Regions from separate parts of the Homo sapiens genome. Here all the other regions are linked to region 2. The links are contacts of gene promoters, found by promoter capture Hi-C in blood cells and fetal thymus (Javierre and others, 2016). All regions are on one chromosome and are shown on one strand. The core of a region is centred on a gene start or on the middle of the fragment in contact, and the rest is flanking DNA. Distances in the headings are between cores, read along the strand shown. Region 1 overlaps LOC105371293 (a long non-coding RNA gene). Region 2 holds the start of GOT2 (glutamic-oxaloacetic transaminase 2). Region 3 has its middle 6.5 kb from the start of PRSS54. Region 4 has its middle 39 kb from the start of GINS3. Region 5 has its middle 2.8 kb from the start of LINC02137. Region 6 has its middle 33 kb from the start of PRSS54.

Evidence for each region. The method cuts DNA at HindIII sites, captures the fragments that hold promoters and counts their contacts. A CHiCAGO score of 5 or more calls a contact.
Region 1: a contact is called between a fragment that was not itself captured here and the fragment with the promoter of GOT2 in region 2, in 1 of 17 cell types (total CD4 T cells). The highest score is 5.1, in total CD4 T cells.
Region 3: a fragment that was not itself captured here is called in contact with the fragment with the promoter of GOT2 in region 2 in 1 of 17 cell types (naive CD8 T cells); the score reaches 5.0 in naive CD8 T cells.
Region 4: a contact is called between a fragment that was not itself captured here and the fragment with the promoter of GOT2 in region 2, in 1 of 17 cell types (naive B cells). The highest score is 5.0, in naive B cells.
Region 5: a contact is called between a fragment that was not itself captured here and the fragment with the promoter of GOT2 in region 2, in 1 of 17 cell types (naive CD8 T cells). The highest score is 5.4, in naive CD8 T cells.
Region 6: a contact is called between a fragment that was not itself captured here and the fragment with the promoter of GOT2 in region 2, in 9 of 17 cell types (total B cells, total CD8 T cells, total CD4 T cells and 6 more). The highest score is 10.8, in total B cells.

Annotation. Positions count from the first base shown.
Region 1 is chr16:58,238,624-58,243,539 of GRCh38, reverse strand. It overlaps LOC105371293 (a long non-coding RNA gene), which reads left to right. Exons shown (of 4, transcript XR_933630.2): 3 at 631-770. Among named protein-coding and RNA genes, the nearest start is that of CFAP263, 8.9 kb to the left of the region's middle. RefSeq lists an enhancer at 1-32. The HindIII fragment of the contact is 4,235 bases long and covers 644-4,878 here.
Region 2 is chr16:58,731,428-58,736,176 of GRCh38, reverse strand. It overlaps GOT2 (glutamic-oxaloacetic transaminase 2), which reads left to right and starts at 1,861. Exons shown (of 10, transcript NM_002080.4): 1 at 1,861-2,037. The coding sequence starts at 1,949. RefSeq lists enhancers at 1,737-1,816, 1,516-2,134 and silencers at 2,257-2,346, 2,447-2,536. The HindIII fragment of the contact is 10,522 bases long and covers 1-4,749 here.
Region 3 is chr16:58,299,301-58,303,750 of GRCh38, reverse strand. No RefSeq gene overlaps it. Among named protein-coding and RNA genes, the nearest start is that of PRSS54, 6.5 kb to the right of the region's middle. The HindIII fragment of the contact is 1,163 bases long and covers 1,077-2,239 here.
Region 4 is chr16:58,351,562-58,356,038 of GRCh38, reverse strand. No RefSeq gene overlaps it. Among named protein-coding and RNA genes, the nearest start is that of GINS3, 39 kb to the left of the region's middle. The HindIII fragment of the contact is 2,323 bases long and covers 1,750-4,072 here.
Region 5 is chr16:58,416,245-58,420,739 of GRCh38, reverse strand. No RefSeq gene overlaps it. Among named protein-coding and RNA genes, the nearest start is that of LINC02137, 2.8 kb to the left of the region's middle. RefSeq lists an enhancer at 2,763-2,872. The HindIII fragment of the contact is 4,750 bases long and covers 675-4,495 here.
Region 6 is chr16:58,326,187-58,330,566 of GRCh38, reverse strand. No RefSeq gene overlaps it. Among named protein-coding and RNA genes, the nearest start is that of PRSS54, 33 kb to the right of the region's middle. The HindIII fragment of the contact is 151 bases long and covers 1,351-1,501 here.

The DNA of each region.
Region 1 (4,916 bases), core at 1,512-4,011, 490 kb after region 2:
TCCTTTCCATCCCAGTCCTTCTCCTATCCATCCAAAGCCATTCCCACTAAGGTGTTGGAAGAGTTCATTGAGATTACATTTAACCAGGTACCAGGCATGGAGCAAGCTCTGGGTTATTATTTTCCTAGATTAAAGGCCTGACTATGCAAATGTGCATCTCTAAAATGTAAGAAGCTTAGTACATTTTCCTTTGTACTGCCTTCTCTTGATATTTTCCTTTGTAGTGTCTTTCCTTGATCCTGCTCGTCTTCAGAAGTGAGGAGGAGACAGAAAAAATATTTGAAGAAATAATGGCTGAATTTTTCCACATTTGATGAAAATTACAAACCTATAGATCTAAGAAGTTCAACCAACCTCATATAACAATAAACATGAGGAAAATGACACCAAAGATACCATAACTAAATTGCTTACAACTAGGGATAAACAGAAAACCTTAGAAGCAGCCAGGAAAAAAAAAAAAGACACAGTATATACAAAGAATCAAGGATTAAAATGATAGATTTCTTGTAGGTAACAATTCAAGCTGGTAGAGTTCTGAAAGAAAAAAAAAAACACCTGTCAAACTAGAATACTTTACACAGCAAAAATATCTTTTAAAAATAAAGACAAAATAAATATTTTTTTCAGATATTCAAAAGCTTGAAAGAATTTGTTGCCAGAAGAGCTTCACTATACAAGATATGTTAAAGGATGTCCTTCAGGCAGAAAGAAGATGATACCAGATGGAAATCTGGATCAACACAAAGAAATGAAGAGCACTAGAAATGGTAACTAAGTGGATAAGTAAATATATTTCTCTCATTATTTAATTTTCTTTGAAAGATAAATAACTTTATATAACAAAAATTATGTATTGTAGAGTTTACAACATTTACATTGTAGCTAAGCACGGTGGCTCATGCCTGTAATCCCAGCACTTTGGGAGGCAGAGGCCAGTGGATCACTTGAGGTCAGGAGTTTGAGATCAGCCTGACCAACATGGTGAAACCTTGTCTCTACTAAAAAAAATATGAAATTAGCCGGGCGTGGTGGCACATACCTGTAATCTCAGCTACTTGGGAGTCTGAGGCAGGAGAATTGCTTGAACCCAGGAGGCAGAGGTTGCAGTGAGCCCAGATCGGGCCATTGCATTCCAGCCAGGGTGACAAGAGCAAAAAACTCCATCTCAAAAGAAAGAAAGAAAGAAAAAAAAAACATTTACATTGTAGAGTTTATAAGTGAAATGTATGACAATGATAGTAGAGGAGAAATGGGAGTGTGATGGTATAAAGTTCTTATACTATACATAAAGTGGTATAATAACACTTGAAGATAGACTGTACTAAGTTAAAGAAATGTACCATAAACCCCAAAGCAATGACAAAAATGACACAGCAAAGACATAAAACTAAAAGAGTAGCTTTAACTCTAGACTGAATGTCTAGACAATGTGGTAGACAGAACAATGGCCCGCAAAGATATCCAGGTTCTAATCATTGGAACCTATGAATATTACCTTGTAAAGGGGGAAAAGGTCTTAACAATTTTAGCGATTAAGTTAAAGGTCTTAAAATGGAGTGGTTATCCTGGATTATGTAAGTGGGCCCTAAAAGCAATCACAAGTGTCCTTACAAGAGGGAGGCAGAAGGAGATTCTACTACAGAAGAGAGAAAGCAATGTGACAACCTCAGCAGAGAGAGACTTGAAGATGCTATGCTGTGGACTTTGAAGATGGAGGAGAGGGCCTAGGAGCCAAGGAATGCAAGGAATGAAGCTCTAAAAACTGGAGAATTCTCCCCTTAAGCCTCTAGAGAAAATACAGCCCTGCTGAGTGAGACCCATTTTGGACTTCTGGCCTCTGGAACTATAAGAGAATAAATTTGTGTTGTTTTAAGCCACAAAGTTTGTGGCAATATATCACAATAGCCTATGAAACTAATACAGCTAAGTCAACAAAGGAGATAAAGTGGAATTATAAAATATTCGAATGGATCCAAAAGAAGGCAGAAAAAGGGAAATATAAACAAAAAGAACAAATAGAAGCAAGGCAATAAAGAAAAAATAGATAAGTTGGACTTATTAAAAACTTTTGTGCTTCATAGAACACCATCAAGAAAGTGAAAAGACAATCCACAGAATGAGAGAAAAATTGCAAATCATATATATGATGAGAGATTTATATCCAGGATACATAAAGAACTATTATTACAACTCAATAATTAAAAGATAAGCAAATAGGCCAGGCTCAGTGGCTCATGCCGGTAATCCCAGCACTTTGGGAGGCTGAGGCGGGCAGATCACTTGAGGTCAGGAGTTCAAAACCAGCCTAGCCAACATGGTGAAACCCTGTCTCTACTAAAAACACAAAATTTAGCCAGGTGTGGTGGCGGACATCACTTGAACCCGGGAGGCGGAAGTTGCAGTGAGCCGAGATCACGCCATTGCATTCCAGCCTGGCAACAAGAGCGAAACTCCGTCTCAAAAAAGTAATAAATAAATAAGCAAATGATTTGAATGGACATTTATCCAAAAAAGATATACAAGTGATCAATAAGCACATGAAAAGATGCCCAACATCATTAGTCATCATGGAAGCATAATATATAATAGAACATATAATATATAATTAAAAAGACAGATAAAAACAAGTATCAGTAAGAATGTGGAGAAATTGGAACCCCCATAAACTGCTGGTGGGAATGGAAAATGGTGCAGCTCCTTCAGAAAACAAAGTTTGGTTGTTACTAAAAGGCTAAACATAGAGTTACCATGTGATCCACCAATTCTACTCCTAGTATATACTCAAAAGAAATTAAAACACATATCCATGCATGAACTTGTACATGAATGTGCACAGTGGTATTATTTAAACTAACCAAAAAGACACAAATGCCTATCAACTGATGAGCAGATGAACAAATGTTGTATCTATAAAATGTAATATTATTTGGCAATAAAAAACGAATGAAGTATGGATACATACAACAAGGACAAAGCATGAAAACATTACGATAAGTAAAAAGAAAGAAAATCACAAAGGACCACATATTGTATGATTTTATGTATATGAAATGTCAAAAATAAGCAGATACATGGAGACAAGAAATAGATTAGTGGTTGTTTATGGCCGGGATAGGGAAAATGAGGGATAAGTGATGAATAAGGCATGTGGAGTTTCTTCTGGGGTAAGAAAAACGTTCTACAATTGACTGGGGTGATAGATGCACAACTTTTGAATATAGTAACAGTCACTGAATTTACTCTTTAAGTGGGTGAATTGTTAAGTATGTGAATTATATATCAATAAAGCTGTTTTTAAAAAAGAATAAGTAGAAAATATCAAGATGGTAGATTAAAATCCAACCATATCAATAATTACACCAAAGGGAATTGGTCTAAACATTCTGATTAAAAGGCAAAGGTTATCTGATTGAATAAAAAAGCAAAACCTAAATACATGCTGCCTATAAAAAATACACTTTAAATATAAAGACACAAGTGGGTTAAAAGTAAAAGGGAAAAAGATGCAAACACTAGTCAAACAATAATACAAACACCAAAGAAAGGTGAAGTAATTATGTTAATATCAGACATAGTAGATTTCAGAGCAAAGGATATTACCTGTAATAAACAGGGTCAGTTTATAATAATAAAGGGATGAATTCATAAAGACATGATATTTATGCATCCAATAAGACAGCTTCAAAATCCATGAAGCAAAAACCAATAGAACTGCAAGAAGAAACAGACAGACGAATTCACAATTAAAGACTTCAAAGATATCAACACCAATCTCTCAAAAATTGATAGGCTAAATGGACATAAAAATAAGTAAGGAAATAGAAGATTTGAGCAGCTTTATTAACTGAAGTGTCCTAACGGACATTTCTGAAACACTCCACCCAACAACAGCAGAACTCACATTCTTTCCAAGTGCACACAGAACATTACTAAGAAGACCATATTCGTTAAACAATAAATTTCAATACATTTAAAAGTATTTGCCATACAAAGTTATGTTCTCTCACCACAATAGAATTAAATTAGAAATGAAACAGAAAGACATTTGGAAAAACCTCTAATATTTAGAAACAAGATAACACACTCTTAAATCACAAATAGGTTAAAAAAATCAATAAGGAAATTAGAAAGTACTTTAAATTGAATAAAAATTAAACACCATATATTAAAATCAATAGTATGCATCCAAAGCAGTATTTAGACACAAATTTAAAATACTAAAATGCCTGTACTGCAGAGAGAGAGAGAGAGAGAGAGAGAGAGAGAGACCACCTTCATGGATCACAGCGCTAAATATTAAGCTATCAGTTATCCTGTAATTAATCTGTAGAGTCAATGCAACTGTAATTAAAATCCCATCAGACTTTATTTTTGTGAATTGATAAGCTGATTCTAACAGCCACACGGAAATTCAAAGAACAAAGAAAAAACAACTTTAGAAGAAAGAACAAAGGAAGAGGAAGAACAAAGTTGAATGACTTACATTACCTGACTGTAAGACTTGTTATAATGCTACAGTAATTGAGACAGCATGCCATTGGTGACAAATCAACAATGGATCAATGGAATAAAATAGAGTCCAGAAACAAATCCACACATATATATGAGCCATAGAACGCTATACATCATCCAAAAAAAAAGGAAAGGAATGAACCATGGACGCAGGCAACAACATGCATAAATCTCAAAATAGTTTGAGTGAAAGAAGTCAGATTTTAGAAAGAGTACATGCTGTATGATTCTATTTGTATAAAATGCTAGAAAGTGTAAACTAATTTACAATGATGAAGAGCAGATTAATGGCTGCTTGGGATATGGAGGGGGCAGGGAAGTGGGAATATGGTGGAGGGGATCACACAGGGGCACAAGGAAGCTTTTGGGAGCGATTTCATGGGTATAAACATATATCAAAA
Region 2 (4,749 bases), core at 612-3,111:
TTAGACAGGGAGGAAAGTCTTTAAAGAAGAATCTCTACTTTACTTTTCACAGGTAGAATCCCAAGTCATGGCCTATAGGCGCATAGGTCAAGGTCATATGAGAGCATAAGGGTCTGAGACAGTAAATTGGAGCTGGGCCGGAAGGACCTAGAATGTGGCCCTAAGTAGGGGTTTAGACTTTACCATTCAGGCAACGTGGAGCCACAGAGGAGATATTAAATTGCCAAGGTACACAGTTCTATCTCGGTTTTATTTTATTTATGTATGTATTTATTTATTTATTTAGAGCCAGCGTCTCACTCTGTTACCCAGGCTGGAGTGCAGTAGCGCAATCCTGGCTCACTGCACTCTTTTTTTTTTTTTTTTTTTGAGTCGGAGTCTGGCTCTGTTGCCCAGGCTGGAGTGCAGTGGCGCGATCTTGGCTCACTGCAAGCTCCGCCTCCCGGGTTCATGCCATTCTCCTGCCTCAGCCTCCCGAGTAGCTGGGACTACAGGCGCCCGCCACTATGCCCGGCTACTTTTTTTTTGTATTTTTTTAGTAGAGAGAGGGTTAGCCAGGATGGACTCGATCTCCTGACCTCGTGATCCGCCTGCCTCGGCCTCCCAAAGTGCTGGGATTACAGGCGTGAGCCACCGCGCCCGGCCTGCACTCTTGAATTAATGGGCTCAAGCAATCCTCCCTCCTCAGCCTTCTGAGTAGCTGGAACAGGCACGCAACACCACATCCTGCTAATTTTTTTTTATTTTTTTAAGAGATGGGGGTTTCATCTTGTTACCCAGGCTGGTCTCAGACTCTTGTTTTCATGCTATCCTCCTGCCTCAGTCTACCAAAGTGTTGGGTTTACAGGCATAAGCCAACACACCGGGCCCCTACCTTGGTTTAAGAGACGAGTATCAGAGAAATAGACTACACATGAGAAAGACTCGTTTGACTTGTGGATGTGTCTGAAATTCATTTGCTTTTTCCTTTAAAACCGATTCATTTCCTTCAAAACCGATTCATTTCCTTCCACAAACAGTTATCAGGATTTGACATACACGAGTTTGTCATTAATGACCATGGGTTATTTTGTGCTTACTAAATCAGGCCCTGTTTTAGACATAATCTGCTAATCTTATTAATCCTCACAACTGCCCCACAAAATACACATGCGACCCTCTCCATAAAAGGGATAAGGAAGCCAGGTGCGGTGGCTCATGCCTGTAATCCTAGCAGTCTTGGGAGACTGAGACGGGCAGATCACTTGAGATCAGGAGTTTGAGACCAGACTGGTCAACATGGTGAAACCCCCGTCTCTACTAAAAATACAAAAATTAGCCGGGCGTGGTGGTGGCACCTGTAACCCAGCTACTCGGGGAGCTGAGGCAGGAGAATCGCTTGAACCTGGGAGGCAGAGGTTGTAGTGAGCCGAAATCACGCCACTGCACTCCAGCCTGGGTGACAGAGTGAAACTCCATCTCAAAAAAAAAAAAAAAAAAAAAAGGGTGGGGGATAAGGAAACATTCAGGAACGACGTGACATGACTTGTGCTTAGGGAAACTATTAGGGTTGAAAGTAAGGCCACCTTGGGTCCTAATGGCTGTAAGGCATCAGACAAAATACGTCAACTATGTCAGCCTACATTTTCTCATCTTTCAAACTGCCATAACAGCAGCCACCTCTTCGGCCGGCCAGGCCTGGCCCAGCTGGATTAAATGAATGAAGCGCAGCAAGGGCTGGGCGTAGGTAAACTGTGCAGTCATCCTCTTCCACGACCTCCGCTGAGCCCACGCCGCTCCGCCCGCCGGCCGCCAGGGATCGCTGTGACGTGGCTCGGGCCCAGCACGCGGCCGCTCTGGCCCAGGGAAGTCCCTGTCCTTACCTTCAGCAGGAGCCGGTTCCCTGTGTGTGTGTCCGCTCGCCCTCTGCTCCGTCCTGCGGCTGCCCACTGCCCTCCTACGGTCCACCATGGCCCTGCTGCACTCCGGCCGCGTCCTCCCCGGGATCGCCGCCGCCTTCCACCCGGGCCTCGCCGCCGCGGCCTCTGCCAGAGCCAGGTAAGCCAAGGGAAACGGAGATGGAGCCAGGGCGATGGCCCTGCCCCGCCGAGCTGCGAGCACCCCAGGACATTCACCCCTCCCGGCCCCCAAATACACACTGTCACTCACACGCACACACACACACTTTTCTGCCACCCCCTCGGCTTTCCCTTACTGGGGACTGAGGATTGAGCGTCCGTGCCCCACAGTGATCCTCAGGATCCCACATCCCTCTGGTCCCCGCACTGGGCCCTGCAGGAAGGCGTGCAACGCAATCCCTAGGGAAAGGAAGTGTGGCCCTCGGCGGTTGCCGGACTCCCATTCAGTGGGAGGGGTGCGGATAGTACTGGGGCAGCGGCGCCGGGTAACGACCGTGCCCTTGATAGGGTGCCCTGGGGGCGGCGGGCGCACCTGTCCTGGCCCCCGGCCCGCCCGAGTCGGTGGGCCGGCGGCGGCTGGCTGCCGCGTGTGTGCCCTGGGCGGGAAGAGCGCGAGAGGAAGGTTTCCGGGGCGCCGGCATTCGGGCCTCGCTTTCCTTCCCGCACCTGCGACCTTGGCGTGCGGCATTCTCCTGACCTTGCGACCCCCCGAGGTCCCTGTGACCCCGGGGCCCGTTTGGCCTTTGCTTGGGAAAGGGTCGAGGTGTAGTGTGTCTCTTTTTTTGTTTTGTTTTGTTTTTTCCTTATTGCCCCTAAGGAGGTCCGGTTGCAGGGAGGCTATCAATCTTCCTCTCCATCTCCCTGTGCTCTTTCATTCAGTAAATATTTCGTAACTGCAGTTTCTCAGAGCCAGGCTCTGGACCAGATGCCAACGATACAACTGTGAACAAGGCGAGGGAAGGACAATGACAAATGGTCATTGCTCAAAAAATGACAAACGTAATTTCGTACTGTGGCGTGTATAATAGTATGGAGGGAAATTTCAGAGCTTGAAACGAGCTCTAGTAATTCATTCCCAGTGGAGACCGGAGCCAGAAGATTAATTCAACTCAAGAAGCCGATTTGGAGCACTCTCCTTAAGCACTACCTTAATAAGGAACTGAGTTTTAAAACCACCCCCAAGCAGGTATTAACTGCAAGGAGCAAAGCGTAGCTTGGCCTTTCGTTTGAATGTATGCTCTGTGTCTTTCAGCCAGCAGAACTATCTGTCCTTTCCAAGGCCCCACAGCCTTGGCAGTACAGTTTTGCCCAGGCTTCGCACTTTTTTCTCTTCCTGACTTGGCTCCTTCCTGGCCCACTGTCAACGTGTGCTCTTTAAGTCTGCCTACCTAGTGGGCCAGAGCCAGGAGGAGTTATTTATGCAACAAATTTGGAAAACCAAAGGAGTGCTTAAAATTTCCGTCAAGAGAAAGTATGTTTCCCTATTGCAGTAATCTTAAAATAATACCTTGTTTTATGGATTTGGCTAGATCACCTGAAGCTCTAGTGCTTGGTGAAAATCCCTTGGGGTCAGGGTTAGTCATTCTTTCAGTTTGAGAGTCTGACTCATTTTTCTTTTCTGTATTTTTCTTACTAGAATGTAAGTTCCATGAGAGCGGAGACTTTACCTACTTTATATTCACTGTTACATCTCAGCACTATTAACAGTTGCTGGCATGTCTCTTATATTGGATATTTTTATTTTAAGCCCTGATTTTTCACGTAATGCAACGGAAACAAATACAGTATGACATTTTAATGTTGTATCTTAGATCAAAATCTGAACATAGGCTGGTCCAAGTGTAATGGTGTTTACAACTAATTGATCATAACCAGTTACAGATTTTATTGTTCCTTCTCTCGACTAATCTTACACAGGGGAACCACAGTGCTGCAAAATATGTACCAAAAAAAATTCCCTTTTTTTTTTTCTTTAAATACAGGGTCTCACTGTGTTGCCCAGGCTGGAGTGCAGTGGCACAATCATGGCTCACTGCAGCCTGACCTTCCAGGCTCAAGTGGTCCTCCTGCTTCAGCCTCCCAAGTAGCTGGGACTGCAGGCATACACCACCACACCCAGCTAATTTTTTATTTTTTGTAGAGACAGAGTCTCCCTGTGTTGGTCTCAGACTCCTCCCACATCAGCCCCGCAAAGCGCTGGGATTATAGGCTAAGCAACCCCACCTGACCAGAAAATAAATTCTTGAAATAGTTGAGCACCTAATGTTGAGGAATTACTCTTCAGATTTAAATAATGATACCTGATTAGGTGACAGAATCAGATGCCATATTTGGCATGAAGGTTAACTCTTCAGGCAAGATCAGACTTCCCTCCTTACACTGTGGAAGTGATCTTTACCTAGCTCCAAATGGTAAAAGTGGAAAATACTTAAACTGAATTCATCGACATTTCTATTTAAATGGCTCATTCTAATACAATAAAACCTTGTCTGTTGTTATTCTGAAGAACTGAGGATTTATCCAATGGCATACTTGGAACTCTTTGTAAATATGTGGAACTCTTTGTAAGTTCAAGTGTATCATTTAGCTAAACACTGCGAATAAAACTTTCTCTTGTTGACTTGTACTGTAAATGTATAGTGACATGAGATCAGACATAGTTGCAGTTCAATGAAGAAAAAAAAAGATGCTAATGTATTTTGATTTATAATGATTTGCTTTTAATTATTTAATTCTGATTATTTACTTTTTGGTGAAATAACTGAGCAGGTCTCGTGAGACTTTAAAAATGCAGTGTGCAACTGTGGTACCATAACCATTGGTTAAAAGATCACAGACCAGGCACAGTAGC
Region 3 (4,450 bases), core at 409-2,908, 430 kb after region 2:
AGGCTGAATAGCATTCTATTGTGTGTATATGTACTACGGGTTTTTTTAAATCCATTTATCCATTGATGAACACTTAGGTTGCTTTCATATCTTGGCTATTGTGAATAATGCTGCAATGAACACAGGAGTGCAGATATCTCATTGACACAGTGATTTCATTTGTATACACACCCAGAAGTGGGATTACTAGATCATAGGGTAGTTCTATTTTTAATATTTTGAGGAACTTCCATATTCCTTCCCATAATGGGTTTTATATTCCCACCAATAGTGTACAAGATTTCCTTTTTTTCCACATCCTTGCCAACACTTGTTAGTTTTTGTCTTTTTGATAATAACAGGTGTGAGATGATTTATAGTTTTGATTTGCATTTCTCTGATGATTAGTGATGTTGAACATTTTTTCCATATACCTGTGGGCCATTTGTGTGTCTTCTTTTGAGAAATACCTATTTCAGGTTCTTTGTCAATTTTTTAATTGGGTGATTTATTTTCTTGTTATTGAGTTGTTTGAGTTTCTTATGTATTTTGGATATTAACCTCTTATCAGAATGTATGGTTTGAAAATATTTTTTCCCATTTCATAGTTGTCTCTTTACTCTGTTGGTATTTTATCTTTTTTTTTTTTTTTTTTTTGAGATGGAGTCTTCGCTCTTGTTGCTCAGGCTGGAGTGCAATGGTGCGATCTCGGCTCACCGCAACCTCTGCCTCCCAGGTTCAAGCTATTCGCCTGCCTCAGCCTCCCGAGTAGCTGGGATTACAGGCATGCGCCACCACGCCCGGCTAATTTTGTATTTTTAGTAGAGACAGGGTTTCTCCATGTTGGTCAGGCTGGTCTCAAACTCCCAACCTCAGGTGATCCGCCCACCTCGGCCTACCAAAGTGCTGGGATTACAGGTGTGAGCCACCGTGCCTGGCCCTGTTTTGTTTTCTTTCTTGTGAAAAACAAACAAACAAACAAATAAACAAAAACACTTTTTAGTTTGATGCAATCTCATTTGTCTATTTTGGCTTTTGTTGCCTGTGTTTTCAAGTCAAATCCAAAAAATCATCACCCAGGCCAATGTCAAGAAGCTTTTCCTCTATGTTTTTGTCTAATAGTTTTATAGTTTCAGGTCTTAAGTTTAAGTCTCTAATCCATTTTGAATTTATTTTTATGTGGCATGAGATAATGGCCTAATTTTATTCTTCTACATGTAGACATCCAATTTTCCCAAGACCATTTATTGAAAAGACTATTCTTTTCCTATTGCATGTTCTTGCCATCTTCGCTGAAGATAAATTGACCATAAATGTACAAATTTATTTCTGGGTGCTCTATTCTATTCTATTGGTCTATATGTCTATTTTATGGTACCATACATATATTTTGAAGTCAGATAGTATGACGTCTCCAGCTTTGTTCTTTTTGCTTAAGATTGCTTTGGCTATTCAGGGTCTTCTGTGGTTCCATACCAATTTTAGGATTTTTTTTCCATTTGTATGAAAAATGTCACTGGAGCTCTCTCCTGATGCCATGTAAGACATGCCTTGCTTCCCCTTGGCCCTCCACCATGATTGTAAGTTTCCTGAGGCATCCCCAGCCATGCAGAACTGTGAGTCAATTAAACCTCTTTTGTTTATATATTTAAAAAAAAAGAAAAGAAAAATGTCATTGGAATTTTGATAGGGATTGCATTTGATCTATAGATTACGTGGAACTTTTAACAATATTAATTCTTTCAATCCATGAATATGGGGTATCTTTCCATTCATTTGTGTCTTCTTCATTTTTTTCAGCAACATTTTATAGTTTTTAGCATACAGATCATTCACCTCCTTAGTTAAATTTATTCCTAAGTAATTTTTATGCTATTATACATGGGATTGTTTTCTTGATTTCTTTTTTAGATAGTTTATTCTTAGTGGACAGAAATGCTACTGGTTTTTGTATGTTGATTTTGTATCCTGCCACTCTACTGAATTTGTTTATTAGTCCTAACAGGTTTTTTTTGTTTTCTCCTTTCCTGAGGCTCAAACCTAACATTTTTTTGGTAGAATATTTAGGGTTTTCTATATATATAAAGTCATGTCATCTGCCAACAAAGACAACTTTACTTCTTTCTTTCTGATCTGGATGCTTTTTATTTCTTTTTCTTGCCTAGTTGTTCTGGCTAGGACCTCCAGTACTATTAATATATTTAATTGAAACGGTAAAAGTGGGCATCCTTGTCTTGTTCCTGATCCTAGAGGAAAAGCTTTCAGCTTTTCACTGTTGAGTATGATATTAGTTGTGGGCTTGATAATAATATTATCTCATAATATGACTTTTATTATATTGAGCTATATTCCTTCTATACTTAATTTGTTGTGAGTTTTTTTAATCATGAAAGGGTGTTGAATTTTATTAAATGCTTTTCTCCATGTATCGAGATGATAACAATTTCTATGCTTCATTCTGTTAATGTGGTATATCAGATTTATAGACTTGTGGTTGATGAACCATCCTTGCATTCCAGAGGTAAATCCTACTAGATGATGGTGAATGAAAGAAACCTGTGCTGTTCTCCTTGGAGAGGAAGAGGAACATGATGGGGAAGGGCCAACAAGGGGCTTCATATATACTCCGTGGTGATGTTCTAACATAATTCATAAACTGGGTTGCAGGTACCTCAGAATGTTGTTGCTTTTGTGTTTATGCTGTTATTGATATACATTAAATGTATTCTTTTGTATATACAAAATGTTCCACAATGTGTTTTTATAAAAACTCTATGAACATTAACCATGATGAAACACAAGTCTACTCTAACAAATAATTGTTTTCCAATGACTGCTGCTCTTTTTATTGTTGAAAAGACCTTACTGGCACTAGTCATTGATCAGACTTGGAATTAAAATGTTTAGGCATGAAAGATACTCCAAGCACAAGACCCGTGGATCAGTAAGGGTTTTTTTGGTCAGAAGCAACACAAACTGTCTCTGACTAGCATGCAGAAAAGAAATGTGCTGGTGGGATTTGAGATAGAACATAGAAGCTCCAACTCTCAGGGAGGACAGGACAGGGAAGAGCTCCTGATGTGGCAGTGGAGCCAAAGAACCTGCTGTTGGCCTAGCGTGGCAGCTCCAGCTGTTACACTCTTTTTGTCCCTTGGCTCAAGACTCAAATTCCAGAGATGAGGGAATCTGGTAGGGTTGGTTGCAGGTTTACCCTGGGCCTGTGGGACTATCAGCTCTGCATGGCATTATAGCCCCAACTCACAAAAATGAGGGGAAGGTTAAAAGAGGTTCAGTGAAGTGTAAAAACAGTGATGAAAAACAGAAGTGTAAATACTGTAACTCAGAAAAAGAGTGGCTGAGACTCTAATGTGAATCACTTTCACTGGGACATATGAATCTGAGAGTAGGATGAGTTCAAGCAAGCAGCCAAAAATTTGAGTGAATAAAGCCAAACAATAGAAACCAAAAATCCAAAAGTACAAACAGGAAGCACGATGACTACCTGGAAATTATGTTTTGCTCGACTGGGCATCCATTAGTCCAGCTTTGAGTGTGTACTATGTTGTGAGGCTCAGCCCCTTCAGCTTTGAGCATCACTGCAGACTAGGTGATCTGAGATGACCTCTCACTGCAAAACAGTGCAGAGGACACACCCTTTGAGTTATCCTTGCTCCCACTAACTTTAGGAGAAGATTCCAAGAAAAATGAGCTGCTAACCTCTGGGAGAGGAGGGGTTGCCTTAGGGGCAGCAGCACAGCTGTTAAAACACTTTACCAGCAGAGAGGGTAGGAAGCCAAGCCACAGTCCCTGGTTAGTGGCGCCCTCTGGTGACCAGTAGAGGCAGAAGCAACTTCTGTCTGGAAGAAAGTGTATCCAAGTTAGAGCCCTATATTAGGAACAAAAAATGAATTCACAATTATTAGGAAGGCACACAGGAAATGCAAGCCACATTGTGTGAGAGTAGATGAAACTAAAAACATTTGGAATCCCCCTCTCCCCCAAATAGCAGATCTTGGAACTGTCGAATACCAAATATAGAGCAGATATATATGAAATGGTTGCAGAAATAATGGATGTAATGACACAGATGAGCTCCTGACAAGATGCAACCAGAAACAAACAGGGAGATTTAAAAACATGTCTTCTAGAAATAAAAAAAATTGAATGTTGAATTTTTAAAAACCTCCAGAGGATGGTTGAACAGAAAATTAGACAAAGATGAAGAGAGAATTAATAAACTGGAAGATATGTCTACAGTAATCACCCAAAATGCAACACAAAGTGATAAAAAATTAAAATATGAAGGCTTTGATGAGATATATGAAGGATGGAATGAGAAAGTCTAACATATATCTATTTGAAATCCCAAAAGTAAAGAATAGAGAGCCTGAAGAAGAGGCAATATTTGCAAAGATAATGGCTGAGATTGTTTCAGAACTTATGAAAAAATATAAATACACAAAGCTAGAAA
Region 4 (4,477 bases), core at 1,662-4,161, 380 kb after region 2:
TGCAAAAATCCTCAACGAAATACTAGCAAACTGAGTCCAACAGCACATCAAAAAGATAGTATAGTGATCAAGTCATATTTATTCAGGGATGCAAGAATGGTTTAACATGTGCCAATCAATAAATATGATATACCATGTCAACAGAACGAAGGACAAAAACCATATGATCATCTCACTAGATGCAGAGAATGCATTTGATAAAATTCAACATCCCCTCATGATGAAAACTCTTAACAAATTAGGCATAAAAGAAACATACTTCAACATAATGAAGGCCACATATGATAAACCCGTACCTAACATCCTACTGAAAGGAGAAAAGCTGACAGCCTTTCTCTATGAACTGGAACAAGACAAGGATGCCCAGTTCCACCATATTATTCAACATGGCACTGGAAGTCCTTGCCAGAGCAATCAGGCAAGAGAAAGAATGAAGTGCATCCATTTGGAAAAAAGGAAGTCAAAATGTCCTTCTTTGCAGAAAGTACTCTTATATATAGAAAAACCCATCAAAAAACTCAGAATTGATAAACAAATTTAGTAAAGTTGCAGGATACAAAATCAACTTATAACAATCAGTAGCATTTCTGGCTGCGCATGGTGGCTCATGCCTGTAATCCCAGCACTTTGGGAGGCCAAGGCGGGTGGATCACCTGAGGTCAGGAGTTCAAGACCAGCCTGGCCAACATGATGAAACTCTGTCTCTACAAAAATACAAAAATTAGCCAGGCATGATGGTGGGTGCCTATAATCCCAGCTACTCAAGAGGCTGAGGCGGAAGAATTGCTTGAACCCAGGAGGTGGAGGTTGCAGTGAGCCAAGATTGTACCATTGCACTCCAGACTGGGCGACAGAGTGAGATTCCGTCTCAAAAAAAAAAAAAAAAATCAGCAGCATTTCTTAACACCAATAATGAACTAGCTGAAAAAGAAATTGAGAAGCTATCCCCCATCTACAATAGCTACAGAAAAGTAAATAAAATACCTAGGAATAAATTTAACCAAGGAGGTGAAAGACCCCTACAATGACAACTACAAAACACTGATGAAAGAAATTGAAGAGAACACAAACAAATGGAAAGACATCACATGCCCATGAATAAGAAGAATTTATATTATTAAAATAACTATACTACACAAAGCAATCTATAGATTCAATGCAATCCCTATAAAATACCAATAACATTCTTCACAGATATAGAAAGAAAATTGTAAATTTTTCTGGAACCACAAAAGAACTTGACCTTGAATATTCAAAGCAATCCTGAGTAAAAAGAACAAAGCTGGAGGCATCACACTACCTGACTTCAAAATATAGCACAAAGCTATAGTAAACAAAACAGCCTAATATTGGAATAAAAGCAGACACATAGCCCAAAGGAACACAATAGAATACCCAGAAATAAACCCACCTATTTACAGACAACTGATTTTCAACAAAGGTGTCAAGAACATACACTGGGGAAAGCACAGTCTCTTTAATACATGGGGAATGCTGGGAAAACTGGATATCTATATGCACAAGAATGAAACTAGATCCCTGTCTCTCACTAGATATAAAAATCAACTAAGAAGGGATTAAAAACTTAAACATAAGACTCAAAACTATAAAACCACAAGAAGAAAACATACAGAAAATGCATTAGAACATTGGTCTAGAGCCTAGACAAAGGTTTTACGGCAAAGACTTCAAAAGGACAGGCAACAAAATCAAAAATAGACAAATAGGACTATATTAAACTAAAAAGCTTCTGCACAGCAAAGAAAACAATCAACAGAGTGAAGAGACAACCTGTAGAATGGGAGAAAATGTTTGCAAAATATTCATCCAACAAGGAACTAATATCCAGAATATAGAAGGAACTCAAACAATCAACAATAAAAACAAAAACAAAACAAAATAATCCCATTAAAAACTGGACAAAGACATTTCAAATAGACATTTCTCAAAAGAAGACATATGAATGGCCAACATATCTATGCAAAAATGCTCCACATCACTAATAATCAGAGAAATGCAAATCAAAACCACGATGAGATAACAGCTCACCCCAGTTAGAATGGCTATTATCAAGAAGACGAAAAATAGCAAATGCTGGTGAGAATGCAGAGGAAAGGGAACTCTTATACACTGTTCATAGGAATGTAAATTAGTACAGCCATTACAGAAGACACTATGAAAACTTCTTAAGAAACAAAAAATCGAACTACCATAAAATCCAGCAATCCCACTACTGGGCATTTACCCAAAGGAAAGGAAATCAGTATATCAAAGGGATACCTGCACCCTCATGTTTATTGCAGCACTATTGACAATAGCCAAGATATGGAATCAACCTCAGAGTTCATCAGTGGATGAATGGATAGACAAAATGTGATACATACATGCACACACACACACACACACACACACACACACACACACAAGAATACTGTTCAGCCATTTGCAGCAGCATGGATGAAACTGGAGGTTGTTATGCTAAGTGAAATAAGCCAGGCACAGAAAGACAGATATTGCGTGTTCTCACTCATATGTGGGTGCTAAAAAATTCATCTCATGGAGGCAGAGAGTAGAATGATGGTTACTGTTGTGGGAAGTCAGGGACCCTGAACGGAGGGACTGGCTGAAGTATGGCAGAAGAATGTAAATTGTGAAGATTTCATGAACATTTATTAGTTCCCCAAATTAATACTTTTATAATTTCTTATGCCTGTCTTTACTGCAGTCTCTGAACATAAATTGTGAAGATTTCATGGACATTTATCACTTCCCCAATCAATACTCTTGTCATTTCCTCTGCCTGTCTTTACTTTAATCTCTTAATCCTGTCATCTTCATAAGCTGAGGATGTATGTCGCCTCAGGACCCTGTGATGATTGCGTTAACTGCACAAATTGTTTAAACAATATGAAATCTGGGCACCTTGAGAAAAGAACAGGATAACAGCAGTGTTCAGGGAAAAAGGAAGATAACCATTAGGTCTGGCTTCCTGAGAGCCACGCAGAATGGAGCCATATTTCTCTTCTTTCAAAAGCAAATAGGAGAAATATCACTGAATTCTTTTTCTCAGCAAGGAACAGCCCTGAGAAAGACAATGCGTTCCCAGGGGGTAGGTCTCTGAAATGGCCACTCTGGGACTGTCCGTCTTTTACGGTTGAAGATAAGGGATGAAATAAGCCCCGGTCTCCGGTAGCGCTCCCAGGCCTATTAGGACAAGGAAATTTGTAATCCTAGCTACTCAGAAGGCTAAGGCAGGAGAATTGCTTGAACCTGGGGGTGGAGGTTGCAGTGAACTGAGACCCTGCCACCGTACTCCAGCCTGGGCAACAGGTGCAAAACTGCATCTCAAAAATAAACAAAATAAAATGAAATAAAATAAAAAAGATAAGAGGAAACACATGCTGAATGCCTACTGTACAGGTGGGCATTGAACTAGGTCAAGATGGTACCTGTCATAATCTCGGTGCTCCTCTCCTCGAAAACAGCTCTGCCCTAGTCCTGTGCAGAGGGATCAGTCACTTTCCACGCCATGAAACTCCACTCCTGGACCACTGATGCCCCAACCAGGGATGAGAGCTGACGCCAGATCATCCCACCCCTGAAGAATCAGCAGGCTGTGAAAGGCCCCACTGAAACCGTTCCACCCAATCAGGGTTGATGGTGATTAGCTGGGCATATTAGATTCTCTGCAGAGAATTTTAACTCAAAAATACAAGGGGAGACAGGGTTAGTGGCAAAAGCAGAAGATAGAAAGATGCATGGCAGGAGCCCATCAGGCACAGATTGCCATGAATAAACAGAAGCAATGAGGTAGAGAAAGGTGCAGAGTGGAGAAGGAGGTTGGATGGGAAAGTGGTGGGGACTGACCCAAACAAGGGCAGGGGGAGGGAAGAGGGAGGCAAAATATTCTGTTCTCAGAGCCAGGCTTCACTCTTACTACTACATGGGTCTCCATCAGGCCCAGCTGTGGCCGTTTCTGTGCAGTCTGGTAGGCAGGACCTGGCTGGGTGTATCTGATCTTTCTGTTGCAGATGCCTTCATGATAAACCCCTAATAAATCACCTGATAAGCTTCATAAGGCTTCATGATAAGCCTTTATGTTAAGCTTCATAAGGCTTCATGATAAGCCTTCCCATTAAACCCCAATAAATCGTCTTCGGTCCTCCAAAGCCTGCCTAACACAGGGGCTCTACTTTGCCACCTGGGTTAAAATTTTCTCAGGCACTTGGAGGTGCCCAGGCGTGAAATGGCCTGCAAGGTGGTGGAGCTGGGCTGTGAACTCAGTTTCCAAAGCTCATGGTGGTGGGGCTCTGTTCATGGCATCCTAATGTCTAATGCCTTAATTGATAAGGCAATGAATAAAGCTAACTGAGTCAACCACAGCCTCTTCCCAGGTTATGCAATGCAGGCTCTTATTCAATACAGGCTTAGTTTTTATAAATCATATGTTTCCCTTTGCAGAAGACTGCAACTCTTC
Region 5 (4,495 bases), core at 1,800-4,299, 320 kb after region 2:
GCTAAGCACCGTACTCCCACGTCACGTGGCTCCAAAATGGCAAAGCTGGGGTTTGAACTTGGGGGCTCCCAGCCCAGAGCCTGGACCCCTAATTACTAAATGATCCTACCTGAAACTACAGATGCACTAAAAACGGACTTTTTTTTGAGACAGCGTCTTGCTCTGTCGCCCAGGCTGGAGTGCAGTGGCGCAATCTCGGCTCACTGCAACCTCTGCCTCCTGGGTTCAAGCCATTCTCATGCCTCAGCCTCCTGAGTAGTTGAGATTACAGGTGTGAGCCACCATGCCCACCTGATTTTTGTATTTTTAGTAGAGATAGGATTATGCCATGTTGGCCAGGCTGGTCTTGAACTCCTGACCTCAGGTGATCCACCCTCCTCCATCTCCCAAAGTGCTGGGATTACAGGCGTGAGCCACCACACCTGGCCAAAAAAACGGACATCTTACTTACTTTTTGAAGATTCAAATTATCTTGAGGGGCAGCCAGTGTCCTGCTCACTCCAGTGCTGGGGAGCAGGACCGCGGGCACCCCTACCCCTACCAAGCTTTTATTGCCTTTAGTGATTTGGGGCATGTGTCTTGACCTGTTTTTCCCTGGACCTAGGATAAACCAGGCTGTTGTTGACAGAGTTCTGGTTTTTGTTGAAGCTCTCAAAATATCGAATCCATAAGCTTGTTTTCCTTATTTAATTCTCACCAGGGTCTCATGGCATGGAGACCCCCCTAGCTAGCACCGATGGCACTGAAACTGTGGCAGTGCCTCTGGTTGCAAAAAATAGGGGATCAACGCCTATTTGGGTTCTATTTTTATTAAAACCCCATTAGCTTGTTTCTATCGGAGCAATTAAAGTGTCGAGGCCTGATGCTCTGCAGGGGCTGTGGAGGAGGCGCTTTCGTGAGAGCAACTGTTCTCAGGCGGAGAACTTTCTTTTCAAAAGGACCCCTGGGGCCTGAAGTCTCAGGCTTATTCTCAGCCCCAGGTGGGTTTTCTTAGTGGATAATTTGGTAACATCCTCTGCAGCTGGGCTTGAGTTAATGAGGTTGAAGATCACCTAATTTTCCCCCTTCCTTTTTTTTTCTTTCTTTGCCTGATTTTGTAACTCACAGTCTAAAGGCTTCCAACCTGTTCCAGCAAATGTTAATTCTGTTCACACCTTGCCAAGTGTGAAATTTCACCCAGCACAGCTGTGCAGACGCATTTCTGTTTCTACCCTGGCACCTTAAAATCAGCTAAACCCACCCAAGCTGGGCTCTGTCCTCATTCCACGCCGGGGTGGGCACAACCTGCTGGCTAGGGTGTGTCCCCATGACACGACTCTGTGCATCTTAACACGTCAGCACACTCTGGAACTTGACAGCTTGCAATTCGGAGGCCATGAATTCAGCACGTGTTAGGCTCCGTGCTCTGTGCTCTGGAGGACTCAGTAGGTCTGGGGTGGGCGCTGGAATCTGTAGTTCTAGCAAATTCACAGGTGGTGCTGATGCAGCTGGCCTGGGGACCACACCTTTGAGAACCACTGTGGTGGGTTTATTTATTTATTTTTTTTGAGACGGAGTCTTGGTCTGTCACCCAGGCTGGAGTGCAGTGGCATGATCTGGGCTCGCTGCAAACTCCACCTCCCGGGTTTAAGTGAGTCTCCTGCCTCAGCCTTCTGAGTAGCTGGGACTACAGGCCACACCACCATGCCTGGCTATTTTTTGTATTTTTAGTGGAGACGGGGTTTGCCATGTTGGCAAGGCTGGTCTCGAATTCCTGACCTCAAGTGATCCATCTTGGCCTCCCAAAGTGCAGGGGGATTACAGGCATGAGTCACTGCAGCCAGTTCCTGTTATGGACTTTTGCTTAAAAGTTACCTTCCCCGGAGGCCCTCCAGTCACACACAGCCTGACTTGGAAGGTGGCCCTGCCAAAGGCTCTCAAGGCAATGTGTATGGCCCGTCCTGGGCTCACACTTGTGATGATCTAATAATGTCCTCCCACTCCCTGACTGTCAGCTCCACCCCTACGGCCAGCTCTATCATATTCATGCCTCAAAAGATCTGCTCTCTGCCTCCTCCCCACTCCCTCATCTCCTGTCACTCTCATCCACACCTCTGCCACCCAGGCCTGCTTTTGTTTCTTAAAGCAGGCCAACCAAGCCACACACTTCTCACCTCCTCTCACTGCTTGGAATGATGACCTCCTCTGGGCTCTTCACCCAGCCAGCTCTGCATCTTTCCTCAGAGAGCCCCTCTTTGGACTCACTAAAGAAGGTCCCTGAAAGCCGGGCAAAGTGGCTCACACCTGTAATCCCAATCTTTGGGAGGCTGAGGTGGGATGATTGCTTGAAGCCAGGAGTTCTAGACCAGCCTGGGCAACATAGTGAGAACTCCGTCTCTATAAAAATTAAGAACAAGAAAAATTAGCCAGATGTGGTGGCACACACTTGTAGTACTAGCTACTTGGGAGGTTGAGGCGTGGAGATCGCTTGAGCCCAGGAGTTCAAAGCTGCAGTGAGCTAGGGTTGTGCCACTGCACTCAAGCCTGAGTGACAGAGCGAGACTCTGTCTTTATTTACACATGCCCTTTAATTCACCTCACAGATCTTATTGTAATCCCGTTTATAGTCCGCCTTGCCCTTTACAGTGTAAACTCCACAGGGCAGTGAGGGATGACCATTCCACTCCTGACTTCAGACCCTCACTGGAGGGGCGAATGAATGAGTGAATAAGTGGGATTAATTTCTGCTGTCAGTGAAATTCCCAGCAGAAGAAGCCAGAAAACAGCCAAGCCTGCCCTGCAGGGGACTGTTTGAACTGTGTAGCCTCTGCTTTCTCGGATTCCCCCTTCCTCCGGACCAACCATGAGCCACCCATCACCTGTTTTGAGCAAGGCAGTTGGGGGTGAGGCAGAGAGAAGGAGGCAAGGGAGTTTTTGCAACAGCCAGAGCTGCAGATTAGACACATGTAATCAATCCGGAGAGCCACACAGTGTTCTGCCAACTGAGATACCCAGATTAAACAGACCAAGGGCCCCTGAGGCAAAATGTCATGCAAAATAACTTTTCAAAAATAGCAGCTTGCAATCTCGAGAATGAGCACGGGTTGTCAATGACATGAGCAGTCTTTTGAAACAGAAGGAGGAGTCCTGTTTTTACTGCAGATAATGGTGATATGACATAGGCATAGGTTGGGCCAATTTTGCCAAAGGAGACACTTAGAAGGGATAGCGAGTCCTATAGAAATGGCGTTGGGAGGACCAGGACTGAAGCGAGAGACGCCTGATAGTGCGGTTGGAAGAGGGGATGGCGAGTCCTATAGAAACGGTGTTGGGAGGACCGGGACTGAAGCGAGAGACGCCTGATAGTGCGGTGGGAAGAGGGGATGGCAAGTCCTATAGAAACGGTGTTGGGAGGACCAGGACTGAAGCGAGAGACACCTGATAGTGCGGTGGGAAGAGGCTGCCCTGGCCTGCTCTGTTGCTCATCGCACAGTGCAGCAGAGCAGAGAAGAGTCGGATCTCAGGATCAGCCTGACCTGGTTTCCAGCCCTGGGCCCAGCACTGGTTGCTGTGTGACCTTCGGCACACACTTAACCTCACTGAGTCTATTTCTTTATCTGTAAAAGGGGGATAACAATAATTCATCTCTTAGGGTTTTTGTGGAAATTAAATGAGATAATACATATAAAATTAGCTGGGCATTGTGGCAGGCACCTGTAATCCCAGCTACTCAGGAGGCTGAGGCAGGAGAATGGCTAGAACCTGGAAGGTGTAGGTTGCAGTGAGCTGAGATGGCGCCACTGCACTCCAGTCTGGGTGACAGAGTGAGACTCTGTCTCCACAAAAAAAAAAAAAAAAAAAAAAAAAAGAACACCTGTAAATCAGTAAAAAGATAAACAATCCAGTAGAACAATGGGTAAAACACGTAAACAGGCATTTCACAAAAGAGGAAGCATAAATGGCCAATGAATATATTTTAAAACCAGGGCCTGTTGTTGGGTGGGGGGAGGGGGGAGGGAAAGCATTAGGAGATATTCCTAATGTAAATGACGAGTTAATGGGTGCAGCACACCAACATGGCACATGTATACATATATAACAAACCTGCACGTTATGCACATGTACCCTAGAACTTAAAATATAATAATAAAAAAAATACAGAAAAAAAAAGAAAAAAAATTTAGCCAGGTGTGGTGTTGCATGCCTGTAATCCCAGTGATTCAGGAGGCTGAGGCAGGAGGATCACTTGAGGCAAGGAGTTCAAGACTAGCCTGGGAAATACAGCAAGATTCTGTCTCTAAATAAGTAAAAGAAGTCAGGTGTGGTGGCATGTACCTATAGTCCCAGCTAGTCGGGAGGCTGAGGTGGGAGGACTGCTTGAGCCTAGGAGTTCAAGGCTGCAATGAGCTATGATCCCACAACTGCACTCCAGCCTGGGTGACACAGGGAGACCTTGTTTCTAAGGAAAAATAAAAAAAGATACTACAAAGAAAATTAAAAGACAAGCTACAGAATG
Region 6 (4,380 bases), core at 177-2,676, 410 kb after region 2:
GGTCTGGTGTAGTCAGAAAGGCAATTATTAAAAAGTCAAGAAACAACAGATGCTGGCGAAACTGCAGAGAAATAGGAACGCTTTTACCCTGTTGGTGGGAATGTAAATTAATTCAACAACTGTGGATGGCAGTGTGGCAATTCCTCAAGGATCTAGAACCAGAAATATTTGACCCAGCAATCCCATTACGGGGTATATATTTGGGTATATACCCAAAGGAATATAAATCATTATATTATAAAGATACATGCACATGTATGTTTATTGCAGCCCTATTCACAATAGCAAAGACTTGGAACCAACCCAAATGCCCATCAATGATAGACTGGATAAAGAAAATGTGGTACATATACAGCATGGAATACTATGTAGCCATAAAAAGCAATGAGATCATGTTCTTTGCAGTGACATAGATAAAGCTGGAAGCCATCATCCTCAGCAAACTAACACAGGAACAGAAAACCAAACACCTCTATATTCTCACTCATAAGTGGGAGATGAACAATGAGAATACATGGACACAGGGAGGGGAACAACACACACTGGGGCCTGTCGATGAGGCAGGGGAGGGAAAGCGTCAGGACTAATAGCTAATGCATGCTGGGCTTAATACTTACATAATGGGTTGATAGGTACAGCAAACCACCATGGCACATGTTTACCTATGTAACAAACCTGCATGTTCTGCACATGTATCCCGGAACCTAAAATAAAATAAAAATTTTTTTAAAAAATTGGTCTTGGGTGTGACCAGGACATGGAAGATTCTAAAAGCCCTTAGATGATTCTAACGTGCCTCCAAGTTCACAAACCACTGCATTAATGCTTGGTTGCAGTTTTCTTAAATGGTTTTTTAAAAAATAGAGACTGGGTCTTGCTCTGTCACTCAGGCTACAGTGCAGTGGCACAATCATGTTCACTGCAGCCTTGATCTCCTGGGCTCAAGCAAGCTTCCCACCTCAGCCTCCAGAGTAGCTGGGACTACAGGTGTGTGCCACTACGCCTGGTTACTTTTATTTTTAAAGTCGCAAGCCATGACTCTAATGTTCCCTTATGTGGAAACAGAAGGATATTCAGCACAACCATGGTAGATGCTTGATTTTGCTCTAGAATTTGATGCCATTTCTTTGAGTCTTATTATATTTGGGACCTGAAAGCTGGTAGCTTCTTGGGATTATAGGCATGAGTCACACAGCCTGACCCCACTTGCTCTTGCACAATAGTTTAAGGCTGCCAAAGTGAGAAATTTTTAGGAGCTCGATAAACCTGGAGGCTTATCTTTCTCTCTTTCCTAGTCTGTAAATAAACAGAGCAAGGTGAAGCCAGCATCATAATGTGACATTCCAAGCTTTACATAGTCACTTAGGTAACAATCTATTAAAATTTTATATTTATAGCTAAAACATCTTTTTTAGCTCCATATGTTTGATTTGTTAAAACTATTATACCTTGCTTTTGAAGAAACAAAATGCCTAACCTCCATGTTTTGGTTAAATAAGCTTAAATATTTGTTGTTTTGGGTGATATTTTGTTGGCAATGTTTGTTGTTTCTCTTAGTACAATGTGACAAAAAGTAATCCACTTCAATATTCATGACTAATTCTTAAATTAGATATGGTTCTGTCTAATGACTTCACAAATACTAGCCTTCCTTAGTCTGGATTTTAAAAATTATTATGGTAAAAAACACATTACATAAAATCGACCATAACATAAAATCGACCACTGTATTATAGATTTTTTTAATAATTTTTTTTTGAGACAGAGTCTCATTCTATTACCCAGCCTGGAGTGCAGTAGAGCAGTCTCAGCTCACTGCAGCTTCAACCTCGTGGACTCAAGCAATCCTCTCACCTCAGCCTCCCAAGTAGCTGGGACCACCATGCCTGGCTATTATTTATTTATTTATTTGTATTTTTTGTAGAGACAGGGTTTCACCATGTTGCCCAGACTGGTTAACCATTTTAAAGTGTACGACTTAGGCATGTTAAATACATTCTCAATGTTTTGCAACCATCCCCACTATCTAGCTCCAGAACTTTTTCATCATTTCTGTACCCCATTAAGCAGTCATTCTCCATTCTCTCTCTCCACAGGATTCCATTTATATAAAATTTCCAGAATAGGCAAATCCACAGATGCAGAAAGCAGATTAGTGGTTGCCGGCGGGGTGGGGATGGGGAGAAATGGGGAATGGCTGTTAATGAAGATGGGATTTTTTCTTTTCTTTTCTTTTCTTTTTCTTTTTCTTTTCTTTTTTTTTTTTTTGAGACAGAGTCTCTTGCTGTCGCCCAGGCTAGAGTGCAGTGGTGCCATCTCGGCTGACTGCAACCTCCACCTCCTGGGCTCAAGCGATCCTCCCACCTCAGCCTCCCAAGTAGCCGGGACTACAGGCATGCATCAGCATGTCCAGCTAATTTTTGTATTTTTTAGTAGAGATGGGATTTCATCATATTGGCCAGGCTGGTCTCAAACTCCTTACCTCAGGTGATCCTCCCACTTCAGCCTCCCAAAGTGCTGGGATTAAAGGCGTGTGCCACCACCTGGCCAAGGGATGGAGTTTTTTCAGTGGTAATAAAAATGTTCTGGCCAGGCATGGTGGCTCACGCCTGTAATCCCAGCACTTCAGGAAGCTGAGATGGGCGGATCACCTCAGGTCAGGAGTTTGAGACCAGCCTGACCAACATCGAGAAACCCCGTCTCTATCAAAAATACAAAATTAGCCAGGCGTGGTGGCGCATGCCTGTAATCCCAGCTACTCGGGAGGCTGAGGCAGGAGAATCACTTGAACCCGGGGAGGCAGAGGTTGTGGTGAGCTGAGATCGTGCCGCTGCACTCCAGCCCAGGCAACAAGAGTGAAACTCCGTCTCAAAAAAATAAAAATAAAAATAAAACAAAAATGTTCTAAAACTGGTTATAGTGATGGATGCACCAACCTGTGAATATGGTAAAAAACATTTTTGCACCTTAAGTGGGTAAATTGTATGGTGGGATGTGAATTATATCTCAGTATATCTGCTTTTTAACAAAACCAACAAAACACCTTATGTCTAACTTGTTGAGCTCCAAATAAGCCTTTGAGTTGTGATATTTATTGTTTTGCTAAAGTGTTTCACTCTGGGAAGTTTAACAAAATGAGCACCTCACCTCAGGCAGCTCTCAAAGGGAAAACAAAGTTCCTCATCCTTACTTCTTGGGCAGACTTAACTGACTGCTGTATTTTATTTTTCTTACTTCCAGAGTGTTTTAAGAGTAGGCATTTTCCTCTGAGTACAGCTCTAGTGTTATCCATGAGTTTTTATATGGAGTGTTTTTATTAGCATTATTTCCCAAATATCTTATAAATGTATTTTTGCTCTAGAGCAGTTCCATAGAAAGGCTTGACATTCTCAAACGTCTTTCTGCATCTACTTTTTATTTTATTTTATTTGTTGCCAACTACAAAAGACATCCAATGCTTCTACTTTTAACTTATTTCCTGCGTTCTTGCATTATGATCAGGAATATGACGGTACAATTTCCAATTTCTTATATACAATGGGCTTTCCTTTTTATTTTATCTCATTGTGTCAAGAACACTTAACATGAGAGCTACCCTCTTAATAGATTTTAAAGTGTACAACACAATACTGTTATTTATAGCTACATTGTTATACAGAGGATCTCTAGAACTTTTTCCTCTTGAATAACTGAAATTTTATATCCACTGACTAGCAACTCCCCATTCCCTCCTCCCTCCAGCCTCTGGCAACCACCATTTTATTCTTTCTTTCTATGAGTTTGACACCATATAAGTAGAATCATGTATTTGTCCTTCTGTGATTCGCTTATTTCTCTTGGCATCCTGTTCTCCAGGTTCATCCATGTTGTCACATAACAGGATTTCTTTATTTTAAAGGCAGAATAATATTCCATTGTGTGTATTATTTATTTATTTAGAGAGAGGATCTTGCTCTGTCACCCAGGCTGGAGTGCACCCAGGTTGCTCGGCACACTGCAACCTCTGCCTCCCAGGCTCAGGTGATCCACCCGCCTCGGCCTCCCAAAGTGCTGGGATTACAGGTGTGAACCACCACTCTGGCCTCCATTGTATGTATATACCACATTTTGTTTACCCATTCATCAGTGGACATCGTTATACCTTTTTCCATTTAATTGAAAAGAAGTCTACTCTTTTCAAAGGATACAGTTCAGAACATTTAGTCATTATATTCTCCTCCTCTGTAATATCCTTACTTTCTTTTCTCTATTTAGTCCAACAAAGACTGAAACAAGTGGGTGAAAGTCTACCACCACTGTTGTATTTTTATTAATTTGTCTTAGTTATTCCCTCCAATTTTACATATGGAACAGGATGCTAAAATGGGACTCTTGTTTTGG